2 separate regions of the Homo sapiens genome follow, and region 1 is linked to region 2. The links are contacts of gene promoters, found by promoter capture Hi-C in human tissues and cell types (Jung and others, 2019). All regions are on one chromosome and are shown on one strand. Each heading gives the region's core, a stretch centred on a gene start or on the middle of the fragment in contact. The rest is flanking DNA. Distances are from core to core; before and after follow the strand shown.

What was found. The method cuts DNA at HindIII sites, captures the fragments that hold promoters and counts their contacts. A contact is called where the count stands out against the background at its distance.
Region 1: a fragment that was not itself captured here is called in contact with the fragment with the promoter of APOBEC1 in region 2 in 2 of the 25 tissues and cell types used here (pancreas and spleen).

What each region holds. Positions count from the first base shown.
Region 1 is chr12:7,714,844-7,721,175 of GRCh38, reverse strand. DPPA3 (developmental pluripotency associated 3) reads right to left here. Exons shown (of 4, transcript NM_199286.4): 2 at 5,749-5,993; 3 at 4,937-4,978; 4 at 3,617-4,209. The coding sequence ends at 4,099. Among named protein-coding and RNA genes, the nearest start is that of DPPA3, 6.6 kb to the right of the region's middle. The HindIII fragment of the contact is 6,179 bases long and covers 1-4,396 here.
Region 2 is chr12:7,663,649-7,669,902 of GRCh38, reverse strand. It overlaps APOBEC1 (apolipoprotein B mRNA editing enzyme catalytic subunit 1), which reads left to right and starts at 3,995. Exons shown (of 5, transcript NM_001644.5): 1 at 3,995-4,046. The coding sequence starts at 4,031. RefSeq lists an enhancer at 2,996-3,290. The HindIII fragment of the contact is 14,417 bases long and covers 1-6,254 here.

The DNA.
Region 1 (6,332 bases), core at 58-2,557, 54 kb before region 2:
ATCCCTTCCTACCCCTTTCCCGCTTCCTATCCCTTCCACATCTTCCCCCCGGCCCCCAACACTACACCTGACTAATTTATTTTTTGTTTGTAGAGACTAGGATCTCACTATGTTGCCAGGCTAGTCTCGAACTCTTGGCCTCAAGCAAATCTCTGGGCTCAGCCACCAAAAGTGCTGAGATTATAGGCATGAGTCACCACATCTGGCCATAAATTTCTTGAATTTTATCCTTCTACTGTGGTTATATAAGTCAATATTCTTGTTCTAAGAAAACACAAACTATTTTGGGATGAAGTGTTATCTGAAATTTACTCTCAAATATCTGTTTAAAAAGAGAAAATATAGAATGTTAAATGAAATGTGGCTAATGCTAACAATTGTTGTATCTAGGTAAAATGTACACACAGGTTTATGAGCTTAAGCTTGCAACTTTATGTAGTTTGAAATTTTTTTAAAAAAAGTTTAAAGTAAAACAAAAAATGTTGAGTGAACAGCAAATAGAGAAATTAACAGCGTTAGCCTGGGCAACACGGTGAAACTCTGTCTCCTCAAACAATACAAAAAATTAGCCGGGCATTGTGGCTCATGCCTGTAGTTCTAGCTACTCAGAAGGCTGAGGTGGGAGGATTGCTTCAGCCCGGGAGGTGGAGTTTGCAGTGAGCCAAGCCTCACTACACTCCCAGCCTGGGCAACTGAGAGAGACCCTGGCTCAAATAAGTAAATATAGAAAAAAAACAACTTTCATATATTACAACCAGTTGAAAAATGTAATGGCAATATTTTAACACACCATAATATAATCTGAAGAGGAAGATATCTGTAGAAAGTACGACTTGGGCCAGGCGCAGTGGCTTACGCCTGTAATCCCAGCACTTTGGGAAGCCGACACGGGGAGAGGTCAGGAGAATTGCTTGAACCCAAGAGGCGGAGGTTGCAGTGAGCCGAGATTGCACCATTGCATTACAGCCTGGGCTACAAGAGCAAAACTCCATCTCAAAAAAAAAAAAAGAAGAAAGTACCGACTTGGCTTAGCTGACTTCCATCTCGGATAAGCCACTTCTTATGTAACTTTGAGCAAGTTCACTACTTTTGTGCTTTTTTTTTTCTGTAAAATGAAGACACCGAAAGTGACCTATCTCAGAAGTTTTGAGGTTTAAATAAGCTAATGCACGTAAAATCCTTAGAATAATGCCTAGCACTCAATAAATGTAAACTGGGAGCATAAAGATTCAGGGCAACTTGAACTGATGCTCTCAGCAGGAAATACATGAAAGGAAGATATTATTATAGAAAGGTTTAAAAATATACCTAAATACTAGCCAGGCGCGGTGTCTCATGCCTATAATCCCAGTACTTTGGGAGGCCAAGGCAGGCAGATTGCCTGAGGTCAGGAGTTCGAGACCAGTCTGGCTAACATGGTGAAACCCTGTCTCTACTAAAAATACAAAAATTAGCTGGGCGTGGTGGCACACGCCTGTAGTCCCAGCTACTTGGGAGTCTGAGGCAGGAGGATCGCTTGAACCTGGGAGGTGGAGGTTGCAGTGAGCAGAGATGGCACCACTGCACTTCAGCATTGGTGACAGAGCGAGACTGCATCTCAAAAGAATACGAAAGGACATGTGACATGTAGAATTAATGTTTTCATTAATTTACAAATTTAACATGATTGCAATAAAAATAAGTTGCCTTTTTTAACTAGTCAGTGATTTTCAAGCTCATACAGAAAAATAATAAAAGTTAGCTTTGCTACTAGGAACGATTTGTAAGTTATAACAAATGCTCTGCCGGGCACAGTGGCTCATGCCTGTAATCCCAGCACTTTGGGAGGCTGAAGTGGGTAGATCATCTGAGGTCAGGAGTTCGATACCACCAACATGGTTAGACCCTATCTGTACTAAAAAATACAAAATTATCTGGGTGTGGTGGCACATGCCTGTAATCCCAGCTACTCAGGAAGCTGAGGCAGGAGAATTGCTTGAATATGGGAGGCAGAGGTTGCAGTGAGCTGATATTGCGCCACTGCCCTCCGGCCTGGGCAACAAGAGTGAAACTCCATCTCAAAAAAAAAAAAAAAAAAAAAAAAAAAGAAATATAACCAATGCTCAATCTGCCCCACATTTGTCCTTGCTGGTAGACCATGTTAAATTTAGTTCTTCAGTGGGGTAACTTCTGATGACCAAACTTGGCAGTGTGGTCCTGCACTCCAGCCTGGGCAACAAAGTGAGACCCCATCTCAAAAAACAAAACAAAAACCACAAAGAAATCACTGGATAGCATCTTCTTGGGTTATTACATATCATGCAGATATCCTTTCCAATTCTCCCTGTGATATTATAAAACATATTTGTTCTTAGTCACCATTTCCTGTCATATAGCTCCTAAAATCTTCAAAATCTCTGGAGTGATAACTTTTGTATGCTAATGGTGACTGCTTTGCTGGGGGCTCCAAGATACCCTCAGGATGTGGGCAGGTTGCCAGGAGAAACCACCAAGTGATTGGAGGGTTGAAAGTTTCACTCCCATTCCGGGACCTCCAGGGGAAGGGACAGGGGCTGAAGGTTGAGTTGATAAACCAATGGCCAGTGATGTAATCAATCATGCCTACCTAATGAAGCTTCCCTAAAAACACAAAAGGAGTTCTGAGGGCTCCTGGACAGTTTCACACTCCTTAAGGGTGGTTCACCCTGCTTGTCTTTTCTCCTATACCTCGCCCTATGCATCTCTTCCATCTGGTTATTCATCTGTATCCTTTGTAATATCCTTCACAATAAGTAAGGTGTTTCCCTGAGTTCTATGAGCCACTAGAGCAAATTAATCAAACTCAAGCAAGGGGTCGAGGGAACCCTGATTTGTAGCTGGTCAGTCAAAAGCACAGGTAAGACAACCTGAAGCTTGTGATTAGCATTAGAAGTGCAGGCAGTCTTGTGGGACTGAGCCTTCAACCTGTAAGATCTGGAGCTATTTCCAGGTAGACAGTGCTGGAATTGAATTAGACACCCAGCTGATATCTATGGCAGAATTGCTTGCTTGGAGGCCAGGTGCCGTGGCTTACACCTGTAATCCCAGCACTTTGGGAAGCCAAGGCAGGCAGATCATCTGAAGTCAGGAGTTCCAGACCAGCCTGGCCAGTATGGTGAAACCCTGTCTCTACTAAAAATACACAAATTAGCCAGGCGTGGTGGCAGGTGCTTGTAATCCCAGCTACTCAGGAGGCTGAGGCAAGAGAATCGCTTGAACTCAGGAGGCGGAGGTTGCAGTGAGCTGAGATAGTGCCATCACACTCCAGCCTGGGCTACAAGAGCGAAACTGTCTCAGAAAACCAAACAAACAAAAAAGAATTGCTTGCCTGGTGTGAGGACCCCTGCATATTTCCTATCAACAACGTAGTAAGCTCCACTTCTGTTCTACCTCCTTCCAATTTTCACATCTCTAATGGGAAGTTGATATTTGCAACTATCTGTGCCTGTGTTTTCCAATCTCACCCAAATGTACAATGAAGTTTCTTCCCAGTGGGAAGATATAAAATATTAGAATGCCAGATATTTACATTCTAGAAATGTAATAAAACTATTGTTCATCTAATTGTTAGTAAGAAAAAGAATAAAATCAAGAACAATTTTTAAAAGGTACTCAAATGTCAACTTTATTGTTTCTATATAAACACTTTTGTACTGAAAACTGTAAAAATAACAAAGTTTGCTGTGATTGCAATCCAAATTTTTGAAAGCCAGAAAATCTAATTATGCTATAGCCCAACTACCTAATGCTTTCTTTATCCATAAGTAACTTTGCTTCAATTTCTTGATGTTGGGTTTCATCTCACTGACTTTGGGCTTCTAAGACACATGGGAATACTTATATCATCTTGGCTTCTTTGGGTCAAATCAAACAGTAGAGCTAAAGTTATTCAAATACATTCAGATTACACAGATCCCTTATGAATTACTAGTATCATAGTAGGAAGAAAAAGATACAAGAAAAATACATCCTAGAACTCATTATCAAAATTATTGGTGTATAGTCTATACTAGCATAGAGTAGCTTTCTCAACCTGCTATATAAAATTACTACCAAGAAAAAAAGGTGCAAGAATAAGATTTATGGCTGAAGTGGCTTGGTGTCTTGATTCCCTATTCTAGCATTCTCAGAAGGATCCCATCCATTAGACACGCAGAAACTGCAGGGACATTTGAATGGTCTTGATTCCTTCTGAAAAAAAATGATGAAATGGATTAATTGGAATATTGTACCCCAGAGAAATGTAATAAGCCCTCAACTATAATGTTGTTTATTTTGGTAAGTGTTGGAACAGGGAACACACACAAAAAAGGACACACGGGCCAAAAGCAAAACATTTTAGGAGAAAAAAAGATCAAAATATGGGTACCACAGAATGGCAGCTTGTGGGTCATTTTGTAATGGTAACAAGTGCAGACTGTCAATAAAACATTCTAGTCTCCGTTCTCTGAATGCCTTAAATGTAACTCATTCTGCTACTAGACACTCTGCTGAAGTGTTTGTCCTCTTACTATACAGTGCTACCGTGAAGATATTTGTGACAGCACGTGAAAGTATCAACCTAACACCAAGAGTGACCCCTAGTGTAAACTATGAACTCTGGATGATAATCCTGTCAGGGTAAGTTCATCAGCTGCAAAGTGTGCAATTCTGGTGTGTGACGTTGACAGTAGAGGCGGCATGTGTGGGGTGTGGGGGAAAGGCTATGAACATAAAACTTCTCTGAAAAATAAAGAATAAAGAATATATTTTTAAAAACTACAAACATGAACTGACTTATCCAGAGTCCCTGGGGATTCAGAAAGTCCAAGCAAATTCCCTAATTCCCTATTCCGGCAAAAGGAAACAAACCAGATACCCATCCACATATATAGCCAAAAAAAAAAAAGGAAAATAAAAAGAAAAAAATTATACTTACCTTAACTCCCTTAGGCTCCTTGTTTGTTGGTCTTCTTTCATGCTTCATGGGAAAAAAATATGTTTATTGAAAACTATCAAGAAAAAGATTACTAATATTACACATCTATATAAGGGAGAGAAGCTAGGGAATTTGTTGAGACAGGGTCTTTCTCTGTTGCCCAGGCTGGATTGCAGTGGAGCAATCATGGCTCACTGCAGCCTTAACCCCCCAGGCTCAAGTGATCCAGCTGCCTCAGCCCTCAGCCACCCACCCCACAGCAGCTGGGACTTACAGGCACGCACCACTACACCCAGCTAATTAATTTTTTGTAGAGATGGCTGATTTTATTAATTTTTTATATTGCCTAGGCTGGTCTGGAACTCCTTGAGCTCAGGTGATCCTCCCACCTCAGCCTTCCAAAGTGCAGGGATTACAGACGTGAGCTGGGAGTCTTTTTTTGAGACGCTTGTTTTGTTCTTGTTGCCCAGGCTGGAGGGCAATGGCACAATCTCGGCACACTGCAACCTCCGCCTCCAGGGTTCAAGCAATTCTCTAGCCTCAGCCTCCCAAGTAGCTGAGATTGCAGGTGCCCACCACCAGGCCCAGCTAACTTTTTGTATTTTTAGTAGAGACAGGGTTTCACCATGTTGGCCAGGCTGGTTTCGAACTCCTGTCCTCAGGTGATCCACCTGCCTCAGCCTCCCGAAGTGCTCAGATTACAGGCCTCAGCCACCGCACCGGGCCTAGAGCTAGGGAGTCTTAATTAGGTCTTAATTTATGAGTGTCACTCTCCGGAATTGGACAGCCCCGGCCACATCACATCAACATACCGTACGAACTCCGCCGAGTAACATGTATCTCAATCTTGCCATCTTTTCTCTCTGCACAGACAGCAATGTTCTTACTCCTCTCCTGCTGTAAAGCCACTCATCTTCGATTTCCCTGAGGACTGCTGCTCCTACAGACTCTCGACGGAGTAAAGCTTCCGATAGAGGGGAAACAGATTCGCTACTAGCGTTGATAGTCAAGTTACTAAGGTTCTTTATCAACGTCTCGGAGGAGATTTGAGAGGCCCCTGAAAGAGAAGGTTAAAAGCCATTACATTAAGGGGATCTTCAACATTCACACATCAACTAGGTCTGCCCTTAAGCAGGGGAACAGGGCGCTGTGTGGGAAATTCCTCAGGGTGGAAGGTCACAGTAAACAACGCACAACCTCTAGTCTTTTCTCAAAAATCGCAAAGTTAGCCCAGCGCGGTGGCTCACGCCTGTAATCCCAGCACTTTGGGAGGCCGAGGCGGGCAGATCATAAGGTCAGGAGATCGAGACCATCCTGGCTAATACGGTGAAACCCCCTCTCTACTAAAAAATACAAAAAATTAGCCGGGCGTTGTGGCGGGCGCCTGTAGTCCCAG
Region 2 (6,254 bases), core at 2,746-5,245:
GATGTTCATTGCATTTAATTTTAATGCAAATTAAAATCACAATGAGATACTACCACACACTCACAAGTATGATTGTAACTAACAGGGCTGACATTACTAAGTACTGATGAGGTTGTATAACAATTGGGGCTCTCTTATACACCTGATGAAAATGTAAACTGGTAACAACAATTTGGCATTTTCTTCAGTTAAATGTAGCTGGGTGTAGTGGCTCACACCTGTAATCCCAGAACTTTGGGGAGGCCAAGGCAGGAGGATTTCTCAAACCCAGGAGTTCAAGACCAACTTGGGCAATATAGTGAGACCCTGTCCCTATAAAAAATAAAATCAATTTTTTAAAAAAGAGTTAAATGTGCATTTACCTATTTGATCCAGCAATTTCACTCTTGGGTATTTACCCAAGAGGAAGAAAAAGAGACATGTTTACACAAAGAATTGTATACAAATGTTCACAGCAGCTTTATTCATGAAAGCCTAAAATTGGAAATAACCCAAAGTACATCACATCGACAGAAGAATATACAAATCGTAGCATACCTATGCAATGGAATACTATTCAGCAATGAAAATTAACCACCAATACACCTAATCATGTAGACCGATTTTACAGAAAAGCTGAAGAACAGCCTGGCCAACATGGTGAAACCCCGTCTCTACTAAAAATACAAAAAGTTGTATAGTGAGACCCTGTCTCAAAAAAAAAAAAAGGAAAAGCTGAGCAAAAGAACACACAAAAGTGTGCACAATGCATGATTCCATTTGTATGAAGTTCTATAATAGTCAAAACTAAACTATAGAGACAGAAAGAGCAGTATTTGCCTGGGACTAGGAGTAGGAGGATAGCTGCTAACACACAGAATTGGGGGGTGCTGGCCAGGCATGGTGGCTCACACCTGTAATCCCAGCACTTTGGGAGGCCAAGGTGGGTGGATCACTTGAGGTCAGGAGTTCGAGACCAGCCTGGCCAACACGGTGAAACCTCATCTCTACTAAAAGTACAAAAATTAGCTGGGCATGGTAGTGCATCTCTGTAATCCCAGCTACTTCTTGCAAGGCTGAGACATGAGAATGGCTTGAACCCGGGGGGCTGAGGCTACAGTGAGCCAAGGTCAAGCCACTGCACTCCAGCCTGGGCGATAGAGGAAGACCCTGTCTTAAAAAAAAACAAAAAAACAAAAGAACTTTTGGGGTGATGGGAATTTTAAATATCTTGACTGGAGTAGTTACATAAGTGTATGTATACATTTTTCAAAATTCATAAATTTTCAGGTGCAGGACAGACTTAAACTGAATAGCTACATTTCATCCTTGATTATCTTTGACCTCACTTACAAATAATTAACCACATGATAGTCTGTCATATGTCATAGTTCCAAGTTTTCTTAAACAAAACAGAACATGGACGAAGCGCTCAATAGGCATTCTAGTAGAAAACAAACCCAAGTTTTGCACCCTCTTGGCTGCTGCATGTTTACTTCCTGGGAGCATGTCCTACCATATCAGTTTCCTATTGCCGCTTCATGAAATTGCCACAGACTTAATGGTATAAAACGACACACATTGTTTTATAGTTCTGGAGGTCTGAAGTACAAAACAGGTCTCACTAAGCTGACATCAAGGTGTCATCAGGGTAGCATTTCTTCTGGAGGCTCTGGGGGAGAATCCATTCCTTGCCTTTTCCAGCTTCTACAGGCTTTCCTCATTCCTTGAATCGTGGCTCCCTTTGAGCCAGCAAGCAGAATTCTGCTCTCATCCTCATATCTCCATTTCGCATCCTGACTCTGACTCTTCTACCTCCCTCTTATAAGGACCCTGTGATTAGACTGTGCCCACCTGCATAATCCAGGATTGTCTTCTCATCTCAAGATTTTTAATTAACGACAAAGACCCTTTTGGCACTTAAGTTCATATGTTTAACAGATTCCAGGGATCAGGACATGGATATCGTTGATGGCTATTATCTTACCTTTTTTTTTTTTTCTTTTTTTTTTTAGACGTAGTCTCACTCTGTTGCCCAGGCTGCAGTGCAATGGTGAGATCTCGGCTAACTGCAAACTTCCCTCCTGGGTTCGAGCAATTCTCATGCCTCAGCCTTCCGAGAAGCTGGGATTACAGTCACCTGCCACCACACCCAGCTGACTTTTATATTTTTAGGAGACTGGGTTTTGCCATGTTGGCCAGGGTGGTCTTGAACTCCTGACCTCAGGTGATCCTCCCATCTCTGCCTCTCATAGTGCTGGGATTACAGGCGCGAGCCACTGCGCCTGGCCTAACCTACTTTTATTCTACAATGATTCTACTCTTACCTAACTTAGAAAAACTTGGTCTCTGAAGGGCCTTTATTGATGATGTGGGATTTCTGCCCCTTCTTCAAAACACTGGTCTGCCCCTGTCGAAACACCTGCTTTATCTCATGGAGGCTCCAGGTTGACTTTCATAACTAAGTAAAGTCTTGTATGTAGGATTCGGGTTTCAGGTTCATGGGGCCTTGAGATTCAAAGTTCAGGAGTTCTAGATTTGAGACACTAGAGGGAGACTTAGGCCTTGAAAAAGTGACCTCAATTCTAGGAGTAAGTGCTGAGACTCAGAGGAATTTTTGGCTTGAACTTGACCCAGGGTTCAGGCAACAGAGAGCAATGGCATAGGGAAGTATGGCATTTACTTTTTCAAGGGGGATAAAAAAGCAGAAGTGGCTGGGAGAGGTGGCTCACGCCTGTAATCCTAGCATTTTGGGAAGCTGAGGCGGGTGGATCACCTGAGGTCAGGAGTTTGAGACCAGCCTGGCCAACATGGAGAAACCCTGTCTCTACTAAAAATATAAAAATTAGCCTGGTGTGGTGGTGGGTGCCTGTAATCCCTGCTACTTGGGAGGCTGAGGCAGGAGAATCACTTGAACCTGGGAGGCAGAGGTTGCAGTGAGCCGAGATCGCGCCATTGCACTTCAGCCTGGGTGACAAGAGCGAAACTCTGTCTCAAAAAAAAAAAAAAAGGGCAGAAGTGGACTTGGCCACACACTTAATCTTAGATTCAAGGATGAAGAGAGCACCAAAGACCTGTACACAAATTAGCTGACTCAGAGGCCAAGGTCCTTCTCATTTTGTATCTAATAGCTCCCCTCCCCTCTCCAACACGGATGTAGGACAGAGAGCAAAATGAGAGGAAGTTGGAAATAGGTGAATAACAGCTGAAAGCCAAGGCCACAGTGTGCTCACCAGATAACATAAAAATTTTCAAGCTATAGTTACAGATTAAGTCTCTCTTAACTTTATTTTTCCTCTCATCTCTCCATTAAAGAATGATGCATCCTAGGCTAGGCACGGTGGCTCATGCCTGTAATCCCAGCACTTTGGGAGGACGAGGCGGGTGGATCACCTGAGGTCAAGAGTTCAAAAACAGCCTGACCAACATGGTGAAACCCCGTCTCTACTAAAAATACAAAAAATTAGCCGGGCGTGGTGTTGGGCGCCTGTAATCCCAGCTACTCGGGAGGCTGAGGCAGGGGAATCGCTTGAACCTGGGAGGCAGAGGTTGCAGTGAGCCAAGATTGTGCCATTGCACTCCAGCCTGGGCGACAAGAGCAAAACTCCGTCTCAAAGAAAAAAAAAAAGAATGATGCATCCTTGATGCAGAGTAGGAGATAATGAAAAATAAATAAATAAAACAAAACAAAACAAAAAAGAATGATGGATCCACCTTGCCTTAATCTTTATTTAAAGAAAGAGAAAGTTTACCAAATTCAGATGTCATTGAAGAACTTTGGAATTTGGTACCCAGTGATCCACCCTACAAAATTCATGTCATTTGCATCATAGGCTTTCTCATCACTAAAGATGCAAATCCCCACGATAATGTCCCTCTCAGTCGGCCCCCTGTTTGTACAGACAGCTCAGATTCCCATAACTGCCTGAGATGCGGGAATGAGTCATCCTCTGCCCAAGCAGGTGGCAGTGGGCACACCTGAAGCAACAAAGTCCAGGAACAATCAGCACAACTTATGACTCCAGAGGAGGAAGTCCAGAGACAGAGCACCATGACTTCTGAGAAAGGTAAAATGGATCCGGGGGCTTGGCAAGTATTCTTGAACAATGCAAGAATGGTGTGTGTGTGTGTGTGTGTGTGTGTGTGTGTGTGTGTGTGTGTGTGTGTGTGTCCTGCTGATTCTTGCATCTGTGGGTGTTTTCAAACTTCCCTATTATTGATTAATATATTAGTCTTAAATAAGATGGTTTATTATTAGTAAATATTTACATCTCCAAGTGACTTTAACCAAATCAGTGTTTGTTTCACCATGATAAAAAATTAAGTAGCCAGGCGCTGTGGCTCACACCTGTAATCCCAGCACTTTGGGAGTCCAAGGAGGGTGGATCACTTGAGGCCCAGGGTTTGAGACCAGCCTGGCCAACATGGTGAAACCCTATCTGTACTAAAAATACAAAAATTAGCCAGGCATGGTGGCGCATGCCTGTAGTCCCAGCTACTCGGGAGGCTGAGGCAGGAGGATCACTTGAACACAGGAGGCGGAGGTTGCAGTGACCTGAGATCACGCCACTGCACTCCAGCCTGGGCAACAGAGCAAGACTCTGTCTCACAAAAATAAAAAAAAAGTTAAGTAAAAGTACAACTGTTTAAATAACAGTTTAAGGTAACAACAGACGTGATAGCATGAGAACAATGTGCTAATTGACAAATGAATTGACTATAACTAATTGATAAATTTGTGCACAGTCAGTGTTAGAAAAATGCATGGGAGAGGAAGAACACTTCAGGCTGAAGGAAGTAATTTCAGCTGAGCTAGGATTTGAGCTGGATTCTAAGAGAAGTGTAGACCTAAAAAAATTTTTATCTTATTTTGTTTTTAGAGACTAGCGGGTGGGTTCACTACTTCGCCCAGGCTGGTCTGGAACTCCTGGGCTCAAGCAATTCTCCACCCTTGGTCTCTCAAAGTACTAGGAATACAGGCATGAGCCACCATGCCTAACCAAATTTTTTTTTTTTTTTTTTTAAGACTCGCCCTGTTGCCTAGGCTGGAGTACAGTGGTGTGATCACTGCTCACTGCTGTCTTGACCTCCTGGGCTCAAGAGATCCTCCCGCCTCACCTTCCTGGGTAGCTGGGACAACAGGCATGGGCCACCAGCCCTGCTAATTTTTTTGTAGAGATGAGGTCTTGCTTTATTGCTCAGGCTGGTCTTGAACTCCTGGGCTCAAGTGATCCACTAGCCTCGGCCTCCCAAAGTACTGGGATTACAGGTGTAAGCCACCATGCCAGGCCAGAAGGGCAGACTTTGGATCGACAAAGAAGAGGAGATTCCAGGTTGATTGAATCCTATTGATGAACAGAATTTAAAAGCTTTTATAGAGACTTGTGTCTGGAATATAATGAATAAACTGGTTAGGCTACAAAAAATTTATGTAAACAATTTGCAGTAAGACCAGAAAGCAAATTTGAAGTGTTATTATACTATAGAGGACTTCGAATGCCAGGCTCAAGGAATGAAAGTTTTTCTTTATGGTAGAGGGAATATCTTTGGAGAATTTATGAATAGCACAGAGATATGACTAAAATAGTGCTTTAGACACATTTACTTGACATGTGATGGGTTTTGGACTGGAAGCAAGGAGACCAGTTAGAAGACTATTGCAATAGTGTGAGTGTGATGGGGCAGAAGGTAATATAGATATCAGTTTGGAGTTGAAGTAACAATTTATTTTCTCCTTTATGTTCTTCATCTGTTAGAATTCTTTTTTAAGGTCAGGTGTGATGGCTCACACCTGTAATCCCAGCACTTTGGGAGGTCAAGGCAGGCGGATCACCTGAGGTAGGGAGTTTGAGACCAGCCTGACCAACATGGAGAAACAACGTCTCTATTAAAAATACAAAATTAGCTGGGCACGGTAGCACATGCCTGTAATCCCGCTACTTGGGAGGCCAAGGCAGGAGAATCACTTGAACCAGGGAGGCGGAGGTTGCAGTGAGCCGAGATCGCGCCATTGCACTCCAGCCTGGGCAACAAGAGCAAAACTCCATCTCGGGAAAAAAAAAAAAATTCTTTTTTAAGTGGCATACTGGGGGAAAGACCAAACACATTATTTGATTGTAGTAGCTAATACCTTCCCTGGACTTTTCTTATGAAGGTGGTGTGTTCTATACCTCAAACTGTCCCCAGTCATGTGGCTGGTATCCTTGTCTTTGCATCCCAGGAATAATATTGATCAGTGTAGACACAGCATATGTCTCACCGTCCCTTTCTGAACT